Regions from separate parts of the Homo sapiens genome. Here region 2 is linked to region 1. The links are contacts of gene promoters, found by promoter capture Hi-C in blood cells and fetal thymus (Javierre and others, 2016). All regions are on one chromosome and are shown on one strand. The core of a region is centred on a gene start or on the middle of the fragment in contact, and the rest is flanking DNA. Distances in the headings are between cores, read along the strand shown.

The links. Contacts are between HindIII fragments. The CHiCAGO score rates a contact against its expected background, and 5 or more counts as called.
Region 2: a contact is called between the fragment with the promoter of SMC5 here and the fragment with the promoter of C9orf40 in region 1, in 1 of 17 cell types (total B cells). The highest score is 5.7, in total B cells.

The regions. Positions count from the first base shown.
Region 1 is chr9:74,951,275-74,956,887 of GRCh38, forward strand. C9orf40 (chromosome 9 open reading frame 40) reads right to left here and starts at 1,638. Exons shown (of 2, transcript NM_017998.3): 1 at 912-1,638. The coding sequence starts at 1,337. CARNMT1-AS1 (CARNMT1 antisense RNA 1) reads left to right here and starts at 1,691. Exons shown (of 5, transcript NR_121183.1): 1 at 1,691-1,843. RefSeq lists an enhancer at 530-599 and silencers at 930-1,139, 1,410-1,619. The HindIII fragment of the contact is 1,820 bases long and covers 380-2,199 here.
Region 2 is chr9:70,257,144-70,262,769 of GRCh38, forward strand. It overlaps SMC5 (structural maintenance of chromosomes 5), which reads left to right and starts at 1,835. Exons shown (of 25, transcript NM_015110.4): 1 at 1,835-2,120. The coding sequence starts at 1,936. It overlaps SMC5-DT (SMC5 divergent transcript), which reads right to left and starts at 1,731. Exons shown (of 4, transcript NR_039990.1): 1 at 1,253-1,731; 2 at 772-792. RefSeq lists enhancers at 1,402-1,591, 1,922-2,121 and a silencer at 1,662-1,881. The HindIII fragment of the contact is 2,740 bases long and covers 538-3,277 here.

The DNA of each region.
Region 1 (5,613 bases), core at 388-2,887:
TTTTCTTTTTTCTTTCTTTTCTTTTCTTTTTTTTTGAGACAGCGTCTCACTCTGTGGCCCAGGCTGGAGTGCACTGGCCCAATCTCAGCTCACTGCAACCGCCATCTCCCAGGTTAAAGTGATTCTTGTGCCTCAGCCTCCCGAGTAGCTGTGATTACGGGCATACACCACCACACCCAGCTAGTTTTTGTGTTTTAATAGAGACAGAGTTTCACCCTATTGGCCAGGCTGGTCTCGAACTCCCGACCTCAGGTGATCCACCCGCCGTGGCCTCCCAAAGTCCTGGGATTCCAGGCGTGAGACACCACGCCCCGCCCCCAAATTAATTTTCAATGATACTTTTGCCTAGGATCAGATTTAACACTATGAGTTAAAACAAAGCTTTGACCAAGGTACGGTGGTCCATCCTTTTCTCCAGAAGCTGTACCAGCCGGTAGGACGTTCAATTAATCAATGGCTACCACACTGGTCTCCCTCTAGAAAAAGAACTCTATCCCGAATTCTAGACTAATCATCGTTAAACCCAGGAAGGCCCTCTACACCTTTATCTGTCGTTTGTCTTTGGGCTGAACCTATGCCCTGACGGTCTGCGTTCTCGCCATGCTCACAGCCCGCCACGACCCACGGTCCCGTTTCCCTTTTACGGAGCGCGGCGCTGACGCCGCAAGGCCACTTCTATCGCTCCCGACCACGGTCTGTTTCCCCCTCGCCCAGCCCAGTGCTTTCTGCCCATCGGACTCTCGGGGTGTGCTTCTGGCGGTCGGCGTCCTCTCCCGGAGCGGTGACCCCTTCTTTCAACCCCCTCAGGCGTCTTAACCTACACAAGTCATGAGTGGGAACCGGGGCGTTTTGTGTGTGTGGGGAAAAGGCAAGCCCCTTCGCCCCTCAGCCCACCCGCCCCCAGCCCCTACCTGGCGCGATGCGACCCCCCAGTCTCCCCGCGGGGGTCCTGCGCGCCCCGCCCCGTCGTCGCCACCGCCCCCCGGGAGCCGGGCGCCCGGGAGCTCCTCCCCCGGCCCCGGCAGTACGGGCGGCGGCGGCAGCGGCGGATCGCCTGTCTCCAGACCGTGGTCCTCACGCTCCTGGCCGCTCGGGGCGCTGTTGTCCCCGCTGTCACGGCGCTTGCTGGGCGAAGCCGAGGGCTCTGCCATGGTCCCTGCGTCGATTTTGCGCTTTCGGTGCTGCTCTGGGACGCCGAGGAGCTGCCCAGCATGCGCGACCCCGGGCGGCCGGATCCAGAGAGGCGGTGGCGGCGGCTGCTCAGCGAAGTCGCAAAGCAGGAGCCGCTTCCAAGGCACGTGGAACGTCACCGGCTCGGCCGCACGCCGCTTGGCCATGGGCCCAGAGGCTCGGGCGGAGCCCGCCAGGCGCGGGAGACCGAGTGCCGATAGCTGCGGGGGGCGAAGAGCGAGGACTGAGCGCGTGAGAGAGGGACAGGCCGAAGTCGGGCGAGGAGGCGACAGGACGCTGGAGGGGGTAGGGCGGGGCAGCTCGCGCAGGGCCTAGGGCTGGGGCTCCGGCTCGGAGGCAGCTCCCGCGCTCAGCCCTCGCCGCCGCCGAGATGCGGCCCGGACGTTGAGAAGCAACCGCGAAGCGGCGGAGATTCGAACCTGCGCACAACGTGCGCGCGCGCACTCTGTCTGGCCAGGCGGAGCCGCTGGTTGGTGGAGGCTCGCGGGGCGCGCTCCCGAGCGCCCTCGCGACCGGAAGTGCGCGCTCGGGGGTAGGCGGGAAGGCCGCGGCGGGATTAATTAAAGACCCGATCAAGCGGCCCGCAGAGGGGCGTGACCTTGTTTCCTCAGGAGTGTGGCGGTGGTCTTACTACTATGTTCGTTATAGCGCGGTACGTTCTAGACCCTTCTATAGGAAATTTAAAACCTTTAAAATGTGTATTTCCTTCCTCCAGTCAGTGACCACGGGGGCGTCTCCATGAGATTAAGACAAAGATTATAATAGAGTTCCAGACTATCCTGGGCAACATAGCAAGACCTCGTCTCTACAAAAAATCAAAAATAGGCCAGGCTTGTTGGCCTGCCCCTGTGGTCCCAGCTACTCGGGAGGCTGAGGAGGAAGATTCACTTGAGCCTGGGAGGTGGAGGCTGTAGTGAGCCAGAGATCGCACCACTACACTGCAGCCTGGGCAACAGAGCGAGATGCCGTCTCAAAAAAAAAAAAAAAAAAAAGGAAAAGGATAATACAAGCTTTAAATAAAACTAGTGTTTAAGAAGCTTCACAGTAGGTTGTTATTCAAAACAAAAGACTGAAGGGAGTCTGGGCTGAGGGAAGTAGCTAAAGCTAACAGAAAACACAAATCGAAGTGTATGTTTTGCATGTTTTGCGCAGCTGCTGTGGAAGGTGAAGCAGGCCCTACATTCCTGGAAGATCTCTTGATTAAAAACTTATGGAGGAAGTTACAGACAAAATGTGCAGCTCATCCAAAATAGCTGAGTAGTTGGCAAGAACCAAGCCTGAAGCGCAGCTGTCCTTTCTAACTGAAACCTAAAATTGTTGGGCTCTTAATTAATGTTGGAAGGCTGAGTTCCCTGCTTACTATGGGCGGTGGTCAGATCAAGATTCTATGGCCATTACAGCAAAATAGTGTTGTCAGGTGAAGTGAGGTGGAGACAATTGCAGTATATTTACTATTTTATTATTTTTATTTTTTATTTTGTTTGAGACAGGGTCTCTCTCGGCCACCTAGGCGGGAGTGCAGTGGTGCCATCACGGCTCACTGCAGCCGGGCCCCACTGAGCTCAAGCGATCTCCTGTCTGGGCCTCCCAAAGTGCTTGGTTTATAGGTGTGAGCCACCGCATCTGGTCGTATTTACTATTTTAATAGTTTGATAAAGACAGTAACCAAGTAAGCAGAAATGGAAGGAAGAAAATAAGACTATTACCAGTGCTTTGAAGGGAAAAACTATCATCCTCTGTAGAAAAAGTGTGCAAGAAAGATAATTCTATTTTAGTGCTAGGTACTATCTCAGTACTAATTTACCCTGTACCCCTGCATCTCAAGGTGGTTGTGAGAGGACAAGTTAATTATTAGTTATTAACAAGCACAGAAATGTACCAAGTTAGGGTAGTAAGCAATAGCTTTTCTGTTTGGTTTTTACTTTTCTTGTTTGAAATTGGTAACCGGCCGGGTGCGGTGGCTCACGTCTTTAATCCCAGCACTTTTGGGAAGATGAGGTGCACAGATCACCTGAGCCCAGGAGTTCCATACCAGCCTGGCCAACATGGTGAAACCCCATCTCTACAGAAAATACAAAAATTAGCCAGAGGTGGTGCCTTGCACCTGTAGTCCCAGGGAGGCTGAGGTGGGAGGATCGCTTGAACCCTGGAGGCAGAGGCCAAGATTGCACCACTGTACTTCCAGCCTGGGTGACAGTGTGAGACCCTGTCTCCAAAAAAAAAAAAATAAATTGAAAACCCGTCTGTCTCAAACAGAGGAAGAGTTTTGCCATTTTTAAATCAGCAGGAAAGATCTTAATCGTAGTCATCAAGTGCTGTTTGAAAGGTTTTGAGTACCCCCAAAATAATAAGTTTAGCTAATGGTTGGTTCTTTTGTGTTCCTCTTTACAAACGCTCATTTTTTCAAAATTGTGAAACTTATCATATATGCAAAAGGTTGTATAAAATACACATGTAGTTAAAAGAATGATAGTAAGACATACAGCATTCTGTTTCAGAAATAGAATACTACCTATACTAGAACATGACAAGCTCCCTATGCGTCCCTTCCCCACTGGCACATACCCTTCCCTTTCCCTCACTCCCGGTAATTACCGTTTTACATGTTGAGTTAATCATTCCTTTGCTTTTTAACTCTTCCATTTGTATGTCTGTATGTATATTGCTAAATAACTTTTTTTTTTTTTTTTTTGAAACGGGGCTTGCTCTGTTGCCCTGGCTGGAGAGCAGTGATATGATTACAGCTCACTGCAGCCCTGACCTCTCAGGGGCAAGCAGTCCTCCCACCTCAGCCTCCTGAGTAGCTGAGACTACAGGTGTACATCACCACACCCAGCTAATTTTTAAAATTTTTTTGTAGAGCCAGGGTTTTGCCACGTTGCCCAGACTTGTCTCAAAGTCCTGAACTCAAACAATCTGCCTGCCCTGGCCTCCCAAAGTGTTGGGATTACAGGCATGAGCCACCACACCCAGCTTAATATATTTTCTGAGACCAGGTCTTGCTCTGTTGCCCAGGCTGGAATGTAGTGGCGTGATCACTGCTCACTGCAGCTTCAACTTCCTGGCCTCAAGCAATCCTCCTGCCTCAGCCTCCCAAGTAGCTGGGCCCATGGCTTGTGCCACCACACCCAGCTAATTTTTTATTTTTAGTAGCAACAAGGTCTCACTATGTTGCCCAGGCTTGTTTTGCCGGGCTTTTTTTTGTTTTTGTTTTTAAAACAGCTTTACCTAGGTCTAAATGACACACAATAATGTGCATATAAAGTGTACAATTTGACATTCATACACCTGTGAAACCATAACCACCATCAAGATGATCAAAGTTTTGAGAGCAGTCTTTGACATCTTGTTCTTTAGGAGTGTGTCAACTATACTTGGCCCTTTGTTCTTCCATAATAGCATCCTCTGTAACATTTAGTTACCCTTTTGGAATTTTGGTTATAATTGCATTGAGATTATAGATCAATTTGGGAAGAATTATTATCTTTACAATACCAAGCTCATTTCCTGTTCAAGAATATAACTATTTAAGTTTTTAAAAATCTTTCAATAAAGTTTTATATTTCTCAACATAAAGAGCTTATATCTTTGTTAAGTTTATCCCTAGGCACTTTATAATTTTTGTAGACAATATTCTTTTTCTTTTTAAATAACATTTTCTGAGTTTTTGTTGCTGCTCTGGGTTCTTTTTTTTTTAAGGCCCCAGAAGTAGAATTTGAAATTAGTTTACCCTAAGTTGTAAGTAGTACCAGATCCACTTGTTCAAGGAATTTGTCCATTTCATTCATCACATTTGTTGGAATATTTTCTTAGTTTCTCTTTTTCCCATTTCATTGGCTTCTACTAAATTTGGATTTACTTTGCTCTTCTTTCTCTAGCTTCTTCTAATAGAACCTAGGTCACTGATTGTAGTCTTTGTTAGTTTCTTTTTGGAGACAGAGTCACTCTGGCTGGAGTGAAGTGGCACGATCTTGGCTCACTGCAGCCTCTGCCTCCCAGGTTCAAGCGATTCTCCTGCCTCAGCCTCCCGAGTAGCTGGGACTACAGGTGCATGCCACCGCACCTGGCTAATTTTTGCATTTTTAGTAGAGGTGGGGTTTCACCATGCTAGCCAGCTTGGTCTCAAACTCCTGACTTCAGGTGATCCACCCACCTCGGCCTCCCAAAGTGCTGGGATTACAGGCGTGAGCCACCGTGCCCAGCCGTCTTTGTTAGTTTCTAAAATAAACACTTAAAGCTGTAACTTTCCCTGTAGCACTGCTTGGGCTACATCCTACAAATTTTGGTATGTTGTATTTTTATTATCTTTCAGTTTGAAATACTTTCAAAATTTCCTTTCTTGTTACTCTACCTCCTTCCTATCGTTATGAATTTCATTTTAAGTTAACCTATTGGTATTTACTTAGCTATACCTCTTTGAAT
Region 2 (5,626 bases), core at 585-3,084, 4.7 Mb before region 1:
GGGAGGCAGAGTTTGCAGTGAACTGAGGTGGCACTACTGCACTCCAGCCTGGGCGACTGGGTGAGACTCTGTCTCAAAAAAATCAAATAAAAAAAATCAAATAAAAAAATTAAAAGCTTTAGTCAGAACATGGCCCTCTCCTGCTTAAAACTTTGCAATGGCTTCCCATTGCTTTAAAAATAAAATTCAGGCTTTTCCACGATGGACAAGGTTCTGCTCTGCAACCTTGTTCACTGCTCTGCAGCAACACTGGCCTTCCCACCTCAGAGCTTTTGTCCTTACTGGTATGTTCCAGCAAAATTCTTTTGCCTGGGGTGCTCTTTTCTCAGATCGTCACAGTTTCTTCTCGTCCTTCAGAGTTTATCTTAAACACCACCACCTCTCTAAGAGGCCTTCCGTACCTCCCACCCATCAGGTTCATTTTGTTTTCTTCCTAACACCTGTCACAGTCTGACATTATGCTAATCATTTGTTGTGTCAGCCTTAAGTAGTGAAATTCAGAAAATATCATTAAGTATAGAGTTTATTCTAACGCAAAGCTTGAGGACAGCCACCTGGAAACACCAACTCCAAACAAATAGGGTCAATGTTCCAAAGTGAAGTTAAGGTTTCATTTACACAGGCAGAAACAGAGAAGGTTCAGCAGGAGTACATTTTCAATACAAGAGCAGTGCATAAATTACAGCGATTAGATTAGTTATAGATAGCTACATTCCAAGGAAGATAACTATATTAATTTATGAAGGGGGTAGTGATCTGAGGGGGTCTTACCTCTGTCTCTGTTTGGTCTTCCTGATTATAGGAAAAAACAAGGCAGACATTGCAGCTGTATGCCATGGGACTCAGGCCCCATCGCCACATTCTTCGCAAGGCTCAGAATAATTTAAAGTTCCAACAGCTTTAAGTTTGAATTATTTAATTTCACAGTTGATTCACTTGTTCTTTTCCTGTCTCCCACAATAGAAAATAAGCTCCCAGGGATGCAACCTTGGCAGGCTCCTAAACTGCCACGGCTCCAGTTTCTTGTAGATTAGATATTCACTGTTGGTTAAATGAAAGAAGTTCTAGACAGGCCTCGGTGTGCTGCCTCCTCTTTAACGAGAGGGCTTACTAGATGAATGTGAGCAGACGGAAGCAGAACACCCTCTTAATGAAGGCAGCGCATTCCAGCTCAGGGATTTCTAGAAACCTCGGGGGCGGAAGTTTAACCAGAGAATTAGGAGGCAAGGGGAAGAGTAGCAATGAGGTTAACCTGTGCAGTGTAGTCATTTCACGAGTTTGAGAACGCCTAGCACGATGCCTTAACGGAGCGTCGGGCACAGAGTCATTTGGGAGGATTTCTTTTTCGGATTTTTGAGACAGGAACCTGATTTGAAGCAACAGGGAAGAACACCAAGAGGACGAAGAGCCAACGACGGGCGTGCCCGGGAGCTCTCACCTGGAAGGGGTGGGAGCAAGCAGGGCCTGACGTCCTCCCGCCTTGGCGGCCGTGGACGCCCCAGGTGCCACCCACAGCAGCCTCCCACCACACATGACTGAGGCTCGGGAAGCAATAAAGTGGCTTTCAAAATACTAAACGCAATTGAGATTTTTTCCTGAGTTAAAACAAAAAAAAAAAGGAACTGAATGCCGAAATATACGGAGAAGAAACTCCAGTTGCCACGTCCCCGAACGTCTCCACCCAGTCCTGCCTGCTGTTTCGCCCTCAGTCTGGGCCTCGCACAGCGCGGCGGAGCGCGGGAGGGGCGGGGCGGGCCTGCTGACGTCGCCGGACCTGAACTGCGCAGGCGCGGCGCGAGATCGCGGGAGCGAGCGCGCGGTAACAGTTCGCGGCAGTTCGCGCGGGAGCGGGGCGCCTGGGTGGATGGGCGCTTGGGCGCCTGGGCTGCCGGACGGTGGGAACGGAAGTCGCTGTGGGACGCTGAGGAAGCCAGGATGGCGACTCCGAGCAAGAAGACGTCAACTCCAAGCCCCCAGCCTTCCAAGAGAGCTCTCCCGAGAGACCCTTCGTCGGAGGTCCCGAGCAAGAGGAAGAATTCGGCCCCGCAGCTGCCGCTGTTGCAGTCGTCCGGGCCTTTCGTGGAAGGCTCTATCGTCCGCATCTCGATGGAGAACTTCCTGTAAGTTGCCCGGAGGCCGCGCCGCGGGTGTGGAGGTGTGCTGGCCAGCAGGCCCCGGGGCTCCGGCAGCGCGCGGGCGTGGGCGTGTGGGTGTGTACCTGGCTTGTGGGTCTGGCCTTGAATTCGTGCCGGGGTTCCCTTGAGGATTTTCCTACGTAGGCTGTGGAGATTGACGTGTATGATGTAGGAGATGTGTGCCTTGGGTGATGTGGTTTTTAAATTTAGTCAGCCAAGGTTTTCCAAAGGTGTCATGTAGCAGGTAGTGGTTGTAGGAGGGAGTAGGTCTCTGCCCGCTGGGAGTCGCGATCCATAGCGGCCCTGGTCTGGAATTCACAGAAGTATTGTCCCCGGGAACTTAAGAGGAGGCAACAGTTAATTCGGCGTGATAGTGATGCTGTGGCGGATTCTTAGGGTAGGCATTTGCCAGAGAGGAGTAGATAAGACGGTAAAGGTTGTTCGGGAATGGAGGTTACAGGTACAAAAAAATTAAACACTTACTGGCAATTGTTGGACCTCCCTACAAACCCTTGACCCCACTAAACCCAGTTTTCTTCCCTGGTTCCTCCCTCTCCCCTTCAGACAACTAGTTACCGCTTTAGAATTTAGTAAGTTTTAAATATATCATGTATTTGCCTAGCACCTTCCAGTTCATTTGTTCCAGGTCTTTTTTTTTTTTTTTTTCCTCTTTTTTTTTGAGACGGAGTTGCGCTCCTGTAGCCCACGCTGGATGGAGTGCTGTGCCGCGATCTCGGCCCACTGCAACTTCCGCCTCTCGGTTTCAAGCGATTCTTCTGGGTCAGCCTCCCGAGTAGCTGGGACTACAGGCGCGCGCCACCACGCCCGGCTAGTTTTTGTTTTTGAGACGGAGTGTCATACTGTCGTCCGGGCTGGAAGGTAGTGGCGCAATCTCGGCTCACTGCAACCTCCGCCTCCCAGTTTCAATCAATTCTCCTGCCTCAGCCTCCCGCGTAGCTGGGATTACAGCCAGCCGCCACCACGCCCAGCTATTTTTTTTTGTATTTTAGTAGACTCGCGGTTTCACCGTGTTGACCAGGCTGATCTGGAACTTTTGACCTCAGGTGATCTGCCCGCCTCGGCCTCCCGTAGTGCTGGGATTACAGGCGTGAGCCACCATGTCCGGCCGGAAGTCTTTTTAAAGCTTGCACATAGTGGCATAAGGATAACAGAATTGTAATAACAATACTACCTTTTTTTTTCAAGCACCTATTGTGTGCCAGGTACATAGTGCACTCATTCTTTCTTCATAACAACTCTATCTTGATAATTTCCATTGCTGAAAGAAGCTCAGTAGGTTATTTTGCCCAGTTTTACGCAGCTGTTACATAGTTGCATTGCTATTTGAATCCAGATCAGGAAAGATAAATGTAATCAAATGAGTTAGATACCATAACAACATATATCAGGATCCTTCACAAAGGATGAAGTGGTTAGTTTTGTCTACGAGTATGAGAAAGGGCTTTGTAAAGAAGATATGAAAGTCTTTGGTCTTGCTCTGTTGCCCACGCTGGAGCTCAGTGGCATGATCAGGGCTCCGTGAAGCCTGGACCTCCCCTTCTCAAGTGATCCTCCTACCTCAGCCTTTCAAGTAGCTCGGACTATAGGCGCGTACCATACCTGGCTAATGTTTTAAAATTTTTTTGTAGAGATGGGGTTTCACCATGTTGCCCAGGCTAGTTTCGAACTTCTGGGCTCAAGAAACTCACCTCGGCCTCCCAAAGTGCTGGGATTACAGACATGAGCCACTGCACCCGCCTAAGAAGATAGGAAAGTCTTGCAAGAAGTGAAGAGCATTGAAGACAGAAGGAACTGTCTGAAATAGTTTGGTATATTTAGAAAGCGTCAAGTATTTTAGTAAGGCAAGAATATAGGATGTGAATGAGTATTTGGACAAAGGGTAAGCAACCATTCAGGGGCCTGTATGTTTACTATGCTAAGAAGTTCCGACATCATCCTGTAGGCAGCCACGGTGTGTTTTCAACAGGGAATGACGTGTGTTCTGTGTTATTCTGGAAGCACTGTAGAGGATGATTTAGAAAGGGTGCAAGATTGGAAGCAAAAAGACAATACGAAGGCAAGAGATGATCAGAGTGTGAAGGAATGAGATTTGACAGGATCCAGCTACAGAATAGTTGTGAGGCATGGGGGAAAGGGAGGAATGCAGCATTTTTCCCAAGTGTAAGAGCCTTAGCTAATTGATCAGGTGCTATTCAGAAGAGGGAGCAGTTTGAGGAGAATAATAAATGCCTCTTAGATCCTGTGACTTAAAGTTTCCTTTGTGGCATCTAAGAGAGATGTTCTATAGGCAGAATGTAGGAGTCTGGAGCTTAGAGGAAAATATGAACAGATGAGAGTTTTGGGAGTCATGCATACAGGTGATTGATGAAGTTGCAGAACTGGTTATGATTGCCCAATAGGAATTATGAATTGAAGAACTAGAAGACCATGTACAGAGTCTTGGGAGAATGCCTACATTAAGGGTGAACTGAAGAAGGACTCAAAGTCAGAAGGAACTATTCAGGGAGGTAAGATGAAAACAGTGGGAGACAATTATCAAAGAAGCCAAGGAAAAAGAATGTTTCAAAAATATCACCTGCTACATTGAAGTCAGATAGCGGGACTGAAAAGAGCCCACTGCATTTAGCAATTGGGAAATCTTTGACCTTTTAATGAAGCAGTGGAAGCAGAAAACTTTGCAGGCCGGATGCAAAGAGAAGAAAGAGAAGGTAGCTGGAAGTGCAGAGGTTGGTGAGATGCTGTTTATTTTAATGAGGGGATTTTGAGTTTTAGGCATGAGGTAGAGAAAGATGCGCTTAGAGAATTAGCAAGGAAATAAGATGGGTAGTTAGAGAATGTAAATGGCCTGGAAGAGAGTAGTGAGTGAACCAAGTCAAATGGAGTTGGGAGTGGAGGAAGACACTTGGAGGCTGAAGGAATAACATGTGCAAATACTTCAGAGCAATAAGGAATTATAGTCACAAAACTGAAAGAAGTACATTATAGGTAGAATTTAGAGGTCTAAGGAGAGAATAGGGAAAGGAGATAAAAAGTAGAAAAAGATGAAACTCGGCTGTGATGGGTTTTTCCTTAATTTTTCTTTTTTAACAAGTGACATCAGATTTACAATTCTACCAGCATCACTTGGTGATTGATTGGATGATGGAGTGGTGGTTTGGGTGGAGTCAAAAGAGATGAAAGAACCAAAGAGGATGCAAAACTAATGCCTAGGTTTCTGATTTGGTCAATGGCATGAATGATAATACCATTCACTAAGAGACCACAAGAGTGGTTTTGGATGGGAAAGATGGTGGATTTCGTTTTAAATGTGTTAAGTTTAAGATGACTGTTATGGGACATTCAAATAGCGTTATTGAGGTGACCATTGCATATAGAGGTCATCTGGACTGCTTTCAGCATGTAGATAGTATGCAAAGACTTGGAGAAAAAAAGGAATCATTGAGGCCATAGAGAATACATGAGATACCTCG